Linked DNA regions of Homo sapiens: all the other regions are linked to region 1. The links are contacts of gene promoters, found by promoter capture Hi-C in blood cells and fetal thymus (Javierre and others, 2016). All regions are on one chromosome and are shown on one strand. Each heading gives the region's core, a stretch centred on a gene start or on the middle of the fragment in contact. The rest is flanking DNA. Distances are from core to core; before and after follow the strand shown.

The links. The method cuts DNA at HindIII sites, captures the fragments that hold promoters and counts their contacts. A CHiCAGO score of 5 or more calls a contact.
Region 2: a contact is called between a fragment that was not itself captured here and the fragment with the promoter of DOCK3 in region 1, in 1 of 17 cell types (M2 macrophages). The highest score is 5.5, in M2 macrophages.
Region 3: a fragment that was not itself captured here is called in contact with the fragment with the promoter of DOCK3 in region 1 in 1 of 17 cell types (M2 macrophages); the score reaches 6.5 in M2 macrophages.
Region 4: a fragment that was not itself captured here is called in contact with the fragment with the promoter of DOCK3 in region 1 in 1 of 17 cell types (M2 macrophages); the score reaches 6.7 in M2 macrophages.

The regions. Positions count from the first base shown.
Region 1 is chr3:50,673,656-50,677,005 of GRCh38, forward strand. It overlaps DOCK3 (dedicator of cytokinesis 3), which reads left to right and starts at 1,272. Exons shown (of 53, transcript NM_004947.5): 1 at 1,272-1,645. The coding sequence starts at 1,609. It overlaps MIR4787 (microRNA 4787), which reads left to right and starts at 1,425; the gene lies at 1,425-1,508. RefSeq lists a silencer at 1,236-1,525. The HindIII fragment of the contact is 16,225 bases long and covers 1-3,350 here.
Region 2 is chr3:50,844,758-50,847,918 of GRCh38, forward strand. The region is part of intron 3 of DOCK3 (dedicator of cytokinesis 3); the gene reads left to right. Among named protein-coding and RNA genes, the nearest start is that of MIR4787, 170 kb to the left of the region's middle. The HindIII fragment of the contact is 3,962 bases long and covers 1-3,161 here.
Region 3 is chr3:50,874,954-50,877,926 of GRCh38, forward strand. All of the region lies in intron 3 of DOCK3 (dedicator of cytokinesis 3), which reads left to right. It also overlaps the pseudogene ST13P14. Among named protein-coding and RNA genes, the nearest start is that of MIR4787, 200 kb to the left of the region's middle. The HindIII fragment of the contact is 626 bases long and covers 1,274-1,899 here.
Region 4 is chr3:50,924,343-50,927,513 of GRCh38, forward strand. All of the region lies in intron 4 of DOCK3 (dedicator of cytokinesis 3), which reads left to right. Among named protein-coding and RNA genes, the nearest start is that of MIR4787, 250 kb to the left of the region's middle. RefSeq lists a silencer at 316-610. The HindIII fragment of the contact is 1,185 bases long and covers 922-2,106 here.

The DNA of each region.
Region 1 (3,350 bases), core at 22-2,521:
GAAGGTGGGAAGGGGTGGCCATAACCCAGGGGAGCACAGTCAGGCCTGGGAGGAGTTACCAATCATGACACTTTGAACGAAGAATCAACAAGATCTGTTGATTGCAAGATATTCTTCTATTAGTCTGGCTTCCCATGCAACAACTATACAACAGGTGCTGGGTTGGTGGTGAGGGTTTAGAAAGTTGATTTTAGCCTGGAGCTTGCCTTCTGGGAGCTGACAGTCTTATAAGGGAAATAAGACAAACCGAACATAGCTCCAATTCCAGACAAAGAAGGAAAGGAGACTATGGGTCAGGGCAGGCTTCCTGGAGGTGAGGGGCTGAGCTGGGCTTTGAAGAGTGGTGGTGTCTGAGAGTGCTAGTGAAGGATGACACCAGGGTTTTGACTTAGTAGTGCTAGTGACAGAGATGGGCAAATCTGCTGGGATTAGAGCATGTGGTCCAAATGTAGGTGGAAAGGAGAAGTCCTGCAGTTCCTGTTCTTTGGTAAGTGGTTGACTTGGGGGTCACAAGGTGACATTTACAGGCATCAGAATGAATGGATTCTTAGGGAGGAGAGAGAGGAGGAAAGTTTCCGGTAGGAGCCAGTTCTTAGGGCTCCAAGGGAGGCAGACACCCAGGAGCAGCAGATGCCGTGTCCTGGGTAGGAACACGAAGGGCCCAATGAAGCTCTTCCTTACTAGCAAGGCGGCTGTTGATTGTTCTGGCCCCAAACATTCACCACTCAGGCCATCTCAGAGAAGCAAGAACCCAGGAGGTGTCAGCGGCCTCAGCCCACAGGGGATCCAGGAGAGAGGGGCACGAGTGCACCCCACCTGGTTCCCTCGTGGCGACTCCATCCTGCGGGCCCTGGGAATGCACAGGGTGGCTCCGGGGACCTTTCCGACAGCACTGTGGGTGACACTGGGATGGGTCTGAAAATGGTGTCGTGTCCTCCTTTTCTGGATCTCCCCTCTCCGACCAGGAGGCCTGTGGCCATCTCGGGGCGCAGGCAGGAGGCACTGGAAGCGGAAGCGAGTGGGGAGTCCGGGTAGAGGGAGTCGCCCACCTGACCGGCTTCGCCCCCTCCGGGGTTTGCTGCAGCTGAGGGCCCCGGACCAGCGATTCTAGAAGCCGGTCCGGGGCCGGGCAGTCCAATAGCTTCTCGCGGATTTCCCTCCGCTGGCGCGCAGCAGCGGCGCGTGGATTCGCGCGCGGGCTCGGGACGGCGCGAGCCCGGGCAGCGCGAGCCCCTGCGCGGCAGGGAGTGGCGCATGCGCGGGCGTCCTGCGAGCCCGCTGGGGCGAGCCGAGCCGCGGCGGCGCCGGGAGCCGGGCGGCGGAGCTGTGAAGAAGCAAGCGGCGGCACGGGAGCAGCGGCGACGGACAGGTGGCGAGCCTTCGCCCGCGCCGCCAGGGGCTGCTGGGCCACCCGCGGAGCCTCGCGGTCCAGACGTGGCGGGGGTGGCGGCGGCATCCCGGACGGCCTGTGAGGGATGCGCCGCCCACTGCCCCGCGCCGCCTGACCGTCCCCGCCTCGACTCGCGGTGCGCCACAGCCGGGCCCGCGGCCGTCCCCGCCGCGTTGTCGCCCGGTCGCCGCGCCCGCGGGGCCGCGCCCGGCACGGCCATGTGGACCCCCACGGAGGAGGAGAAATACGGCGTAGGTAGGTGAGGCTCAGGCCTGGCCGTGGCGGGGGTTCTGGGGGACGCGCCCAGCTCCCGGCCCCGCCTGGATTCGCATCCTCGTGCCCCCGCCACTGCCCGCAGGCTGCGCGGCCTCGGCGCGGGGCGAGCGCGGGGTGGGGGCAGGTGCGGGTGCGGGTGCGGGTGCGGGGGTGGGCGCGGGTCTCTGTGCAGAGAGGGCGGCAGGGGGCGCTGGCGGTGCGGCCTTGGCAGGTGCGGCCCGCGGGAGGGGTGGGCAAGGCCCGGGCAGTTGCCCGAGGTTTCTGGTGTGGGCCACGGGGCAATTTTACCCGATAAACCAAATTCTGGGAATATGTTTTCTCCCCTCCAAAAGCTCGATTTTAATGAGTTTCCGCACCTGAATTGATGAGCCCGATGGCTGTTTATTTTTGATCTGGAACCTTACAAGAAAACGGATGAAAAACGTTGACATCATTTTCCCAGTTCAAAAATTTGGACATTTGACTGCAAATGTTTGATCTGTTTTAATTTGTTTTGCCTTTAGTATTAGAAATAATACCTTACGATGGGAAATGTTTTTGGACATGTATCAATGTTTATACGGTTTTTTTTTTAAACCCTGTTTTCAGATGAGACCTTATTCCTCTTAGAAACCTTTTTTTAATGTTGTAAGTGTTAAACTCCAGAAGCTAAATAATTCTTACAATATTCAACTTCTTTAAAAAGAATATTCAGTAATTTAAAGTATTGAATGTTTTACAATGTTAGTGTTTTGTGGCAATTACATGATAGAGTTAAGCCTCATTGCATCACCTATCATCTTGTTCAGTTAGAAACAGATTTAAAATGTTGAGTGTACAGGTTTTGTTTTTCCTAAGCTCGTAATGGAAAATTTTAGATAGGAAACCTGTCTAAACATAGATTTTTGTTTCCCATCTTTACCGCAATTTAATCAAGATTTAGTTCACAATTCACTACAAAATAACTTGAAACTGCAGTGGTAACGAATGTTTTGGAATGCTATCAGGCAGGTTATCGTGTGAAAATTGAATTTATTTAAATTCGAGGACCAGCAGAGAGGTCTTCTATTCTGGTAGAAGATCTTGTTTTAAAAGGTAACTTTCTGAAACAATTAGGTATGTTAGGATGGAGGTGATAAAGGGAGCTCTGGTCCTAGAGTCTCTATTGAGAAGGAATTGAGAAATGATGCGAAGAGCTGGGATTCACCTCTAGGGACATTTTACCCCTTCTCTTAGAGTATTCCCTGAATACTGAGTTGATTCTGTGAAGTGAGGAGTTGGTGGTTTATCTTCTCCATAACTCGCTCCCAGAACTGCTGAACTAGAATAACAAATAATTGATGTGAGTGGTCAACTCTCCAGTGGCACCCCATGATTGATTTTTTTGGAGGGGGGAGGAGCCCTATTTTGGCGGGGGTGGGGGCGTGGGGGGAGGAGCCCTTGAATAGTGGACAAAGTGGAATTCAGAGTCCTAGCTTCTCTTTACTGGTGGTGTGGGCAAGTAATTTAACATCATTTAACGTCATTTTATTAATGTATAAATTGGGGATAATGTTTACCTATCTTACAGGATTGTGAAAGTGAAATGAGAACGTGCTGAATGCTTAATAGTTTCTTCTTTTCCCTTAGTATTTAGACTAATAACACTAAGTGTGTTCTGAGACAGAGCCAGTGCAAGGTAATCAAGATAGGTACATGTGAATCT
Region 2 (3,161 bases), core at 560-3,059, 170 kb after region 1:
TGATACTTTATTGTCTTTTCATTTTTTGAGGACTTTGTTTTTTCTGCATACACTTCTACAGTAGAACTTACTTTAGTTTTATAATTTTAGAGACCAAAGCAAGGTTTTGAGACATAGTGTTCTGTTCCATTGCCAAAATGCCATGTTATGTATTTGTTAGAGTCATCAAAATATTAACTTTCTGGCCAGGCACGGTAGCTCTTGCCTATAATCCCAGCACTTTGGGAGGCCCAGGCAGGTGGCTCACTTGAGGCCAGGAGTTCGAGATCAGCCTGGCCAACATGGAGAAATGCTCTCTCTACTAAAAGTACAAAAATTAGCCTGGCTTGGTGGTGCACTCCTGTGATCCTGGCTACTCGGGAGGCTGAGGCAGGAGAATCGCTTGAACTCGGGAGATGGGGGTTGCAGTGAGCCGAGATCTCGTGGACAACAAAGGGAGACTCTGTCTCAAAAAAAACCAACCAAACAAAAAAACTTAAGAGCATACATGAAGAATTAAAGAATAAGACATAAAATTGAGAAAAAAGGACAACAGATACTTGATTTTATTTTTGTGCTTTTTATAAAATATATGCTCAAGAGGAATAATGAAATTCAGTACAGTTTATATTTACTTCCATTTTGTGATTTCAGGATCAGCTTTTATCAATAATTGTGAACAGAATGCGTAGTATTCTGTGAGATAGGAACAGGGCCTTATGGAATGTTTTGCACAGCAAAAAATTGCAAGACATATTCATGGAATAGTAAATATTTTAAGCTGGGTAAGGCATAGTGCAGGAGAGAGTGATGGATGGTAAGGCAGGAAAGGCAGATTGGACCTATATATTTAGAGTCATACGCCAAAGAAATCTAAGGAATTTACACTTTGGCAACAGGGAATCTGTCATTCAACAGAGATGTGGACCCATTACTGTCATACAGTATAACTATAAAATAGGGTTTATCAGGAAAACAAAAGGTAAATATTGAAGATATTTACTGTCAAGAGAATCGCTTGAACTTGGGAGGCAGAGGTTCAAGCGATTGAACCTCCTTGAATATTTAAGGTAAATATTGAAGTATTTGTGGATAATTTCTGAAATTTTCTCTAAAAATACTATAATGGGTAAAATGTATGTAGATTGATGAGTCAAGATTGGCAAAATGTTGATAATTGTTGAAGCTGAGTGATGGATTTGTGGAGATTCATTATACTGTTGTCTAATTTTGTCTGTATTTGAAATGGGTTATTACTTATCTCATGGAATTGTAATGAGGAATCAATGAGTTGATATGAAACCGTTATTGCAGTGCCTAGCACATAAGAACGTGATAATTCTTTTGCACTATCGTCTTTTACTATTAAAGAATAGCACTGCAAATGAGACTGTAAAGACTGCCAACACTTTGGAGGACAGAGAAAGAGGAACTGGCAAAAAAAGACTAATGGAGGTCATAGTTGGCCAAGGAGAACATTTTTTAAAAACAGGGGTAATTAATGGTTTCAGGTACTGTGGAGTAGAATGAGTACTGAATAGGGGCATATAGTTGTACTCACAGTTATGAATTATTACAGTGAAAAAATAGAAAGAAAAACCAGCAAAGGGGAAAAGGTGTTGGGGCAACAGTCTGTGATGAATTATCTTTTGATGTGCTGCTGGATTCAGGTTACTAGTATTTTGTTGAGGATTTTGGTCTGCGTTCAGGGATATCGGCCTATAGTTTTCTCTTTTTGTTGTGTCTTTGTAAGATTTTGGTGCTAGGATGATATTGGTTTAGTAGAATGAGTTAAGGAAGGGTCCCTCTTCCTTGATGTTTTGGAATAGTTTCAGTAAGATTGGTGGCAGCTCTTCTTTGTACATCTAATAGAGTTTGGCTGTGAATCTGTCTGGTCCAGGACTTGCTTTGGTTGATAGGTTTTTTATTACTGATTCAATTTTTGAACTTGATATTGGTCTGTTCAGGGTTTCAGTTTCTTCCTGATTCAATCTTGGGATCTTGTGTGTTTTCAGGAATTTATCCATTTCCTCTAGATTTTCTAGTTTCCAATTTGCTGTAGATCTTCTACGTGTTCCTAATGGTGTTTGAGGATCTTTCGTATTTGTGTGGGATTGGCTATAATGTCACCTTTGTCATTTCTGATTGTACATATTTGGATCTTTTCTCTTTTTTCTTTCTTAATCTACCTAGCAGTCCATCAATCTTGTTGATTCTTTGTGTGGATTTTGGGTTCTCAATTTTGTTCAGTTCTGCTCTGATTTTAGTTATTTGTTTTCTTCTGCTATCTTTGGGGTTACTTTGTTCTTGTTTTTTCTAGTTCCTTCAGGTGTAATTGCTATTTTTTTTTCTAACTTTTTGAGGTAGGTGTTTAGCATTATAAACTTGCCTATTAACTCTGCTTTTGCTTCATACCAGAGGTTTTGGTATGTTGTGTCTGTTCTCATTTATTTTAAAGAGTTTTTTGATTTCTGCCTTAATTTTGTTGTTTACCCAACATTCATTCAGGAGCAAGTTTTTAAATTTCCATGTAATTATGTGGTTTTGAGCAATCTTCTTGGTATTCATTCCTGTTTTTATTCCATTGTGACCTGAGAGTATAGTTGGTATGACTTCCATTTTTTTGAATTTATTGAAACTTGCTTTATGGTTGAGCATGTGGTCAATCTTGGAATATGTTCTGATTCCATTCTCTTCTGTAGATGAGAAAAATCTGAGAATGTCCCGTGGTTGATGGGTGGAGTATTCTGTACATGTCTGTTAGGTCTGACTAGTCAAGTGTTGAGTTTAAATCCAGATGTTATTTGTTAGTTTTCTGTCTCAGTGATCTAATGCTGTCAGTGGGATATTGAAATCCCCCACTATGGCCAAGTGCAGTGGCTTATGTCTGTAATTCTAGCACTTTGGGAGGCTGAGGTGGGCAGATCATTTGTGGCCAGGAGTTCAAGACTAGCCTGGACAACATGGTAAAACCCCATCTCTAGTAAAAACACAAAAATCAGCCGGGCATGGTAGTGTATACCTGTAGTCCCAATTACTCAGGAGGCTGAGGCAGGAGAATTGCTTGAACCCAGAGGCAGAGGTTGCAGTGAGCCGAGATTGTGCCACTGCACTCCAGCCTGGGTGACAGAACGAGGCTCCATTTCAAAAAAAAAAAAAAAAAAAAATCCCCCACAGTTATT
Region 3 (2,973 bases), core at 337-2,836, 200 kb after region 1:
ACAGAAACAGAAAACCAAACACCACACGTTCTCACTCATAAGTGGGAGTTGAACAATGAGAACACATGGACACAGGGAGGGGAACGTCACACACCGGAGTTGTGGGGGAGGGGTGGGAGAGCATTAAGACAAATACCTAAAGCATGCGGGGCTTCAAACCTAGATGACGAGTTGATAGGTGCAGCAAACCACCATGGCACATGTATGCCTATGTAACAAACCTGCACGTTCTGCACATGTATCCCAGAACTTAAAGTAAAATTAAAAAAAAAATTATGTTGTCTGCAAACAAGGATAATTTGGCTTTTAAAATTCCAGTTTGGGTACCCTTTCACTTGTTTCTCTTGCCTGTTTGTGCTGGCTAAGACTTGTAGTACTATGTTAAATAAAAGTGGTGGAAGTCTTATCTTTGTCTTGTTTGAGATCTCTTTGGAAAGACTTTCAATTTTTCCCTGTTCCTTCAGTATGATATTAGCTATGGGTTTGTTATATGTGGCCATTATTGTGTTCAGGTAAATTCCTTCCATACCCAGTTTGTTTAGAGGTTTTATCATGAAGGAATTTTGAACTTTATCAAATGCTTTTTCAGCACCCATTGAAATGATGATATGGGTTTTGTCTCTGATTTTGTTGATGTGATATATCATGTTTATTGATTTTCACATGTTCAACCATCCTTGATTCCCTGGGATGAATCCCACTTGATCACGATGAATGATGTTTTTGATATGTTGTTGAATTTGAGTATTTAATATTTTGTAGAAGATTTTTGCATTTATATTCATCAGGATTATCGGCCTATAGTTTTCTTGTTTGTTGTGTCCCTGTCTGATTTTGGTATCAGAGCAGTGCTTGCCTCATAGAATGAAGTTGCAATCATCTCTTCCTCTTTAATTTTTGAATTAAAAAAAAAAAAACAACTGTTGTGTTTTGAGAGTCTTCGCCTGTTCGCTGTTGAGATAATATGAAACATTTTCATGATATATTGAACAAGAACAGAGCTGAATAATCCAGCTCTACTGGAGCATTAAAAAAAATTCTTTACCATCGTGTAAGGTTTAAATGCAACTGACAAGAGGGTGCATGCTATGTAAAACATAATAAGATTACTGCTGCTATACCAAGTATTTCCAGTCTGTTTCTGAGAAACAGAACCTGTTCCTCAGGTTCTGTTGAAATACTGGAATATCAATATTTTTATCAGAATTATTCATGTTAAAAAACCATTTAAAAAGAGAAATCAAAATTCCTCAGTAGTCATGTATTCAACTCAAGCTTTATCTACTTAAATTAGTTTTATTTGCCTCCCATTTGTAAACCTGTGTTTCACTAAAACCAGAGCAATAAATCTTCCATACTTAAGTATCTTTCTTGCCTAATAAAGGAAAAATACAAAATGATTATTAAAGAAAAATATATGAACTAACAAATCCTTTTGTTTTAAATATTTTAAGGTTTAAAATATTTAGTATTTTATTCAGTATAAATATTTAGTGAATAAATATTTAGTATTTTATTATAGTTTGTAATTTCTAGCAGGAACACATGATTTGAATGAATATCCTAATGGCAAACCACAGTAAAATATTCAGCTGCATTTGGGGAAGAGGGGTAGAGATGATCTTGAAAGCCTTCTAGTTGTCTTGATCAGAGGTACACCGGTTTGTATTATTGTAACATTTATTAGGTGATCTAGTTTGCTTTTCCTTCACCTAGGGCCTTTTACTTGTCCAAAGGACATTTTCCTTCACTTTAAAAATTTGGCTGACAATTTACTGATGAGATTCATAATTTTTTTGGTTACTCTGGTGTTTTGACATATTTGCTGTGTTCTGGGCCACATCCTAGAAGATCACTGTAACTTCTGTTTCCTGCATGGCTGCAAGAACCTCTAGGTCAAGCTTGTCCAACTCATGGGCCATATGCAGCCCAGAACAGTTTTGAATGTGGCCCAACACAAATTTGTAAATTTTCTTAAAACATTATGAGATTTTTTGCAATTTTTTTAAAAAGCCCATCAGCTCTCGTTAGTGTTACTGTATTTTATGTGTGGCCCAAGACAATTCTTCTTTGAGTGTGGTCCAGGGAAGCCAAAAGATTGAACACTCCTGCTCTAAATCACTAAGAATTTCATTGCATCCAGGCATTTCTGCCATTCTAGGCATTGCTCCAGGAAAATTACCAGGCATTCCCCCTGGGAAAGCCACCTGGAAAAGAGCCATACTGAGCTCCTGAATGTCATCTGGCTTCTTTCTCCCTCTGAGCTCTCTCATGATCTTACGGAGCCTTCTTAACCCTTTTTATTCTTTCTTTGATTTCTTACTCTTGATATTTCTATTCAACCTTTTTCTAATGTTGTGCAATTTTCTTGGCCCTCAGTTGAACTTCTTTCAGCATTGTACTAGTATCTTCATCATAATCCAGTTATGGTCAGGGTCAAGATTATAGCTGCTTCTTTCCAATGGCCCAGAAATCTGTGTGCTTTCCCTCACCACTTATAAGGCTGAGCCAAATCAGAATTTATTTCATTTGTTCTGTCAGTCTCGAATGGCAGTGTTTGGCTTCTGTAATGTGATGAAGATACTGACTGTGTTGACATACAGAATGGTCAAGCGAGGATTCAGCTTGATGGCATCTCTGAACAAGACAGTGGCTTTCTGTAGTGCACCATTATCTAGGGCTTCAATGGCAGCCACTTTTTCTTTTCTTTTCTTTTCTTTTCTTTTCTTTTTCTTTTTTATGTTGGAGTCTCGCTGTGTCACCAGGCTGGAGTGCAGTGGCGTGATCTCAGCTCACTGCAACCTCCGCCTCCTGGGTTCAAGCAATTCTCCTGCCTCAGCCTCCTGAGTAGCTGGGATTACAGGCCTGCACCACCACGCCTGGCTAACTGGGAGTAACCTAACTGGGAGACATCTCCCAATAGAGGCTGACTGACACCAAATACAGCCAGGTGCCCCTCTGAGACGAAGCTTC
Region 4 (3,171 bases), core at 264-2,763, 250 kb after region 1:
ATAACAAAGTCTTCTATAGTCTTGTCTATTGTTCTATACAGTCTGTTGCTCTGGATGATGAAGTAATTAGTAAGATCAGTTAATCTGTGAGTGTCAGCTCCTTATCTTCCTTCTTTGTGTTTAAAATGAGTTCCTTGCTCATATTCCAGTTTTATATGCAACAGTGTTATGGCAAATAGGGTATTGAATAGTCTACTGAAGGTTATGTTTCCAGAAATGAAGCAGCCAGGGAAAGTAAGTCCAAATCTCATCCTCTTTGTCATGAATGGGGTCAAAAGTATGAACTTGCCTGTAGGCAGTTGGCTAATCCACTTGGAATATGTGTACCACATCCAAGTCTCAGGGTTGCCCACTGCTACCGGTCAGTTCTGATTCAGCAGTTGTGGTGTCAGATCAGCCTTGGTGAGGGAAAGTTCATGGAGTTGAGCTCCTCTATAGCTGCTATTTCTTTCACAGCATTCTTTTCAGGATGGCTGGGAAAGTAAACAGATTGAATTTACAGGACACTGGGGACAATTATGCGGGTGGTGTATGGTCTAAGGAAAATGGGCTTCTCTTTGCAAGATAATTCACTCAGGTGATGTAGTCTCACAGCATGTAAGCAAGGCAAGGATACCCTCATCAGCCCAGAAGGAGGGACTTTTTCTGATGCCAAAAGGAGGTTTACTAGGGGTGGAGCTCAGACTTTCCTAAGTTATCCCATGTCTTTATTCTATCTCCATTCTGATTCACAGGTTACTGTTATTTTTATGTCACTACCCTGCCTTTTATCTTAATTTTAATGAAAAGGCCATGAATTCAACTGATCTTGTAATTCAGCAATCCTTAGGATCAAAACTTGAGTTTGATTTTTGGCTATATGAGTGATGAAGCTGAAAGAGAAAATGAACTCTTGCATGAGCATCAAAAAAGTGAGCATTAAGCTTTTTGCAGTCCTGGTTTCCTGATTAGATATTATTCTTGCAAGTAGTATTTTATGTATATCAGATTGTCTCATCCATCTGTCAAAGTCAAATAAATGACAAATCTCTAGACAAAGCATTTTATTTGGAAGGCCAGGCATATTGGCACATACCTGTAGTCTTGGGTCCTCGGGAGGCTGAGGCAGGAGGATTGCTTGAGCCAAGGAGTTTGAGGCCATAGTGCACTATGATCATGCCTGTGAATAGGCACTGCTCTCCAGACTGGGAAACATAGCAAGACTCTGCCTCCTTAAAAAAAAAAAGTTTTATTTAGGAAAGCAGAATGGCCATTCAGGGCATACACACAGACAGGGTAGTCTTCTTTGTGTCCGAAGAAGAAACAGAAGGTTGGGGTTTTATTAGAGAAATGTTACATATTGTTTTGAAAGAAAACTTACTAACACTAGTGAAGTTTTTGGGAGCTGGCAAGCTCTGATTGGTTGGGTGAGTGATGGCGGTAGGTAAAACTGTTCTTAAAGTCATGGCAGTTCATTTCAGCAGCTACTAGGTAAAACTAGTCTTTTTTTTTTTTTTTTTTTTTTTTGAGACAGAGTCTCACTCTGTCGCCCAGGCTGGAGTGCAAATGACACAATCTTGGCTTACTGCTACCTCTGCCTCCCGGGTTCAAGTGATTCTCCTGCCTCAGCCTCCTGAGTAGCTGGGATTACAAGGCACGCACCACCAAGCCTGGCTAACTTTTGTATTTTTAGTAGAGATAGGGTTTTACCATGTCGGCCAGGCTGGTATCAAACTCCTGACCTCAAGTGCTCCACCCACCTTGGCCTCCCAAAGTTATAGCAGGCCATTTTGGCAGCTGGCTTGTGATATAACCCTTGGACAGGTGCTTTGTGCCCGAGTGCTTCTCTCCTCCCCTGATGCAGTCTCTTGACATTAATTTAGTTGGGTATGCCAAGATAATTCCAATTCATGTAACCAATTTTTATATATCCATTCTACATCTGCTAGATTTGTTAACTCTTAGTTAAAGGGAGAATCAGTAGATCAACAGTACCTGGAAGATTTCTTGCTTTTGAGCATACAGGCCAAGGGTTTTTTAAAAAAGTTTGCCTATTAATTTGTTCATTCGTTTGTTCATCCATTTATTTAATTCATTCTATGACCTCATTCTTGGTCTATTTACCAAAGCTTTTCTCAAACTCAGTCTCATGCTTTTCTCTAGGATGGAGACAATATTAGACTGTGCTTCTAGTTATGCATATTTTATTTATAAGTGTTACAGGAACCTTGACATTATCATAACCAGAGAGGGTTAGAGATCTGGGGCTTCAGTTAGATGAAAGTGGGACTTGAAAGGGAATTAGCATGGGTGCCCACTATAGCAAGATGGTGAGAGTTGTTGAGAGTCAGCTGCTAAGGAACAGTAGGAAAGATGTGAGCACGTTATGGACTGTTGGGTGGAGTTGGTACAGCATTAGACAGCTGAGAAGAAGAAGGAGAAACTCAGTGTCCTAAATTGTCACATTATGTCATGGAATGAAAAACAAGTACATTCTGGGGTTATAGTTTCTTGCCTGTGTTACAGCACCACCTTCTAACTGGTCTCCCTGTTTCTATCCATGTTCCCTTGCAGTTTATAGTGCAACATAACTGCCAGAGTTGTTCTTTAAAAATATGTTAGATCATGTTACTCCTCTGCTTAAAACCTTCTAGCGACTCCCGTCTCACACAGAGCAAACATTGAAGTTCTTACAAAGGCTTACAAGTTTTATGATGTGACTTCCTGTCACCCTGTAACCTTCAGTGACACTGGTTTTCTTGCTTTTATTCAGTCATTTCAGGTATGCTCCTGCCTTGAGGCTTCTATTGTTTCTTATGCTTGGGATTAGCTTTGTCACTTCCTTCAGGCCTTTTCTGAAATCTTCTCAGTGAAACATACCTTGACTACAGTATTTATTTCTGCCTCCTTCCTTCCCCTCACTGACTTAAAACTGGATGCTCCCACAGGGCAGTGGGGAGTGGGGGATGAGGAGGGATTGGTTAGTGGGTACCGAAATACCGCTAGATAGAATAAGATCTAGTCGTTTGATAGCACAACAGGATGTCTATAGCTAACAATAATTTATTGTATATTTCAAAATAGCTAGAAGAGAAGATTTAGAATGTTCTCAATACAAAGAAATCATAAATATTTGAGGTGATGGATATTCCATTTACCAAGATTTTCTCATTACACATTGTGTGCTTATAT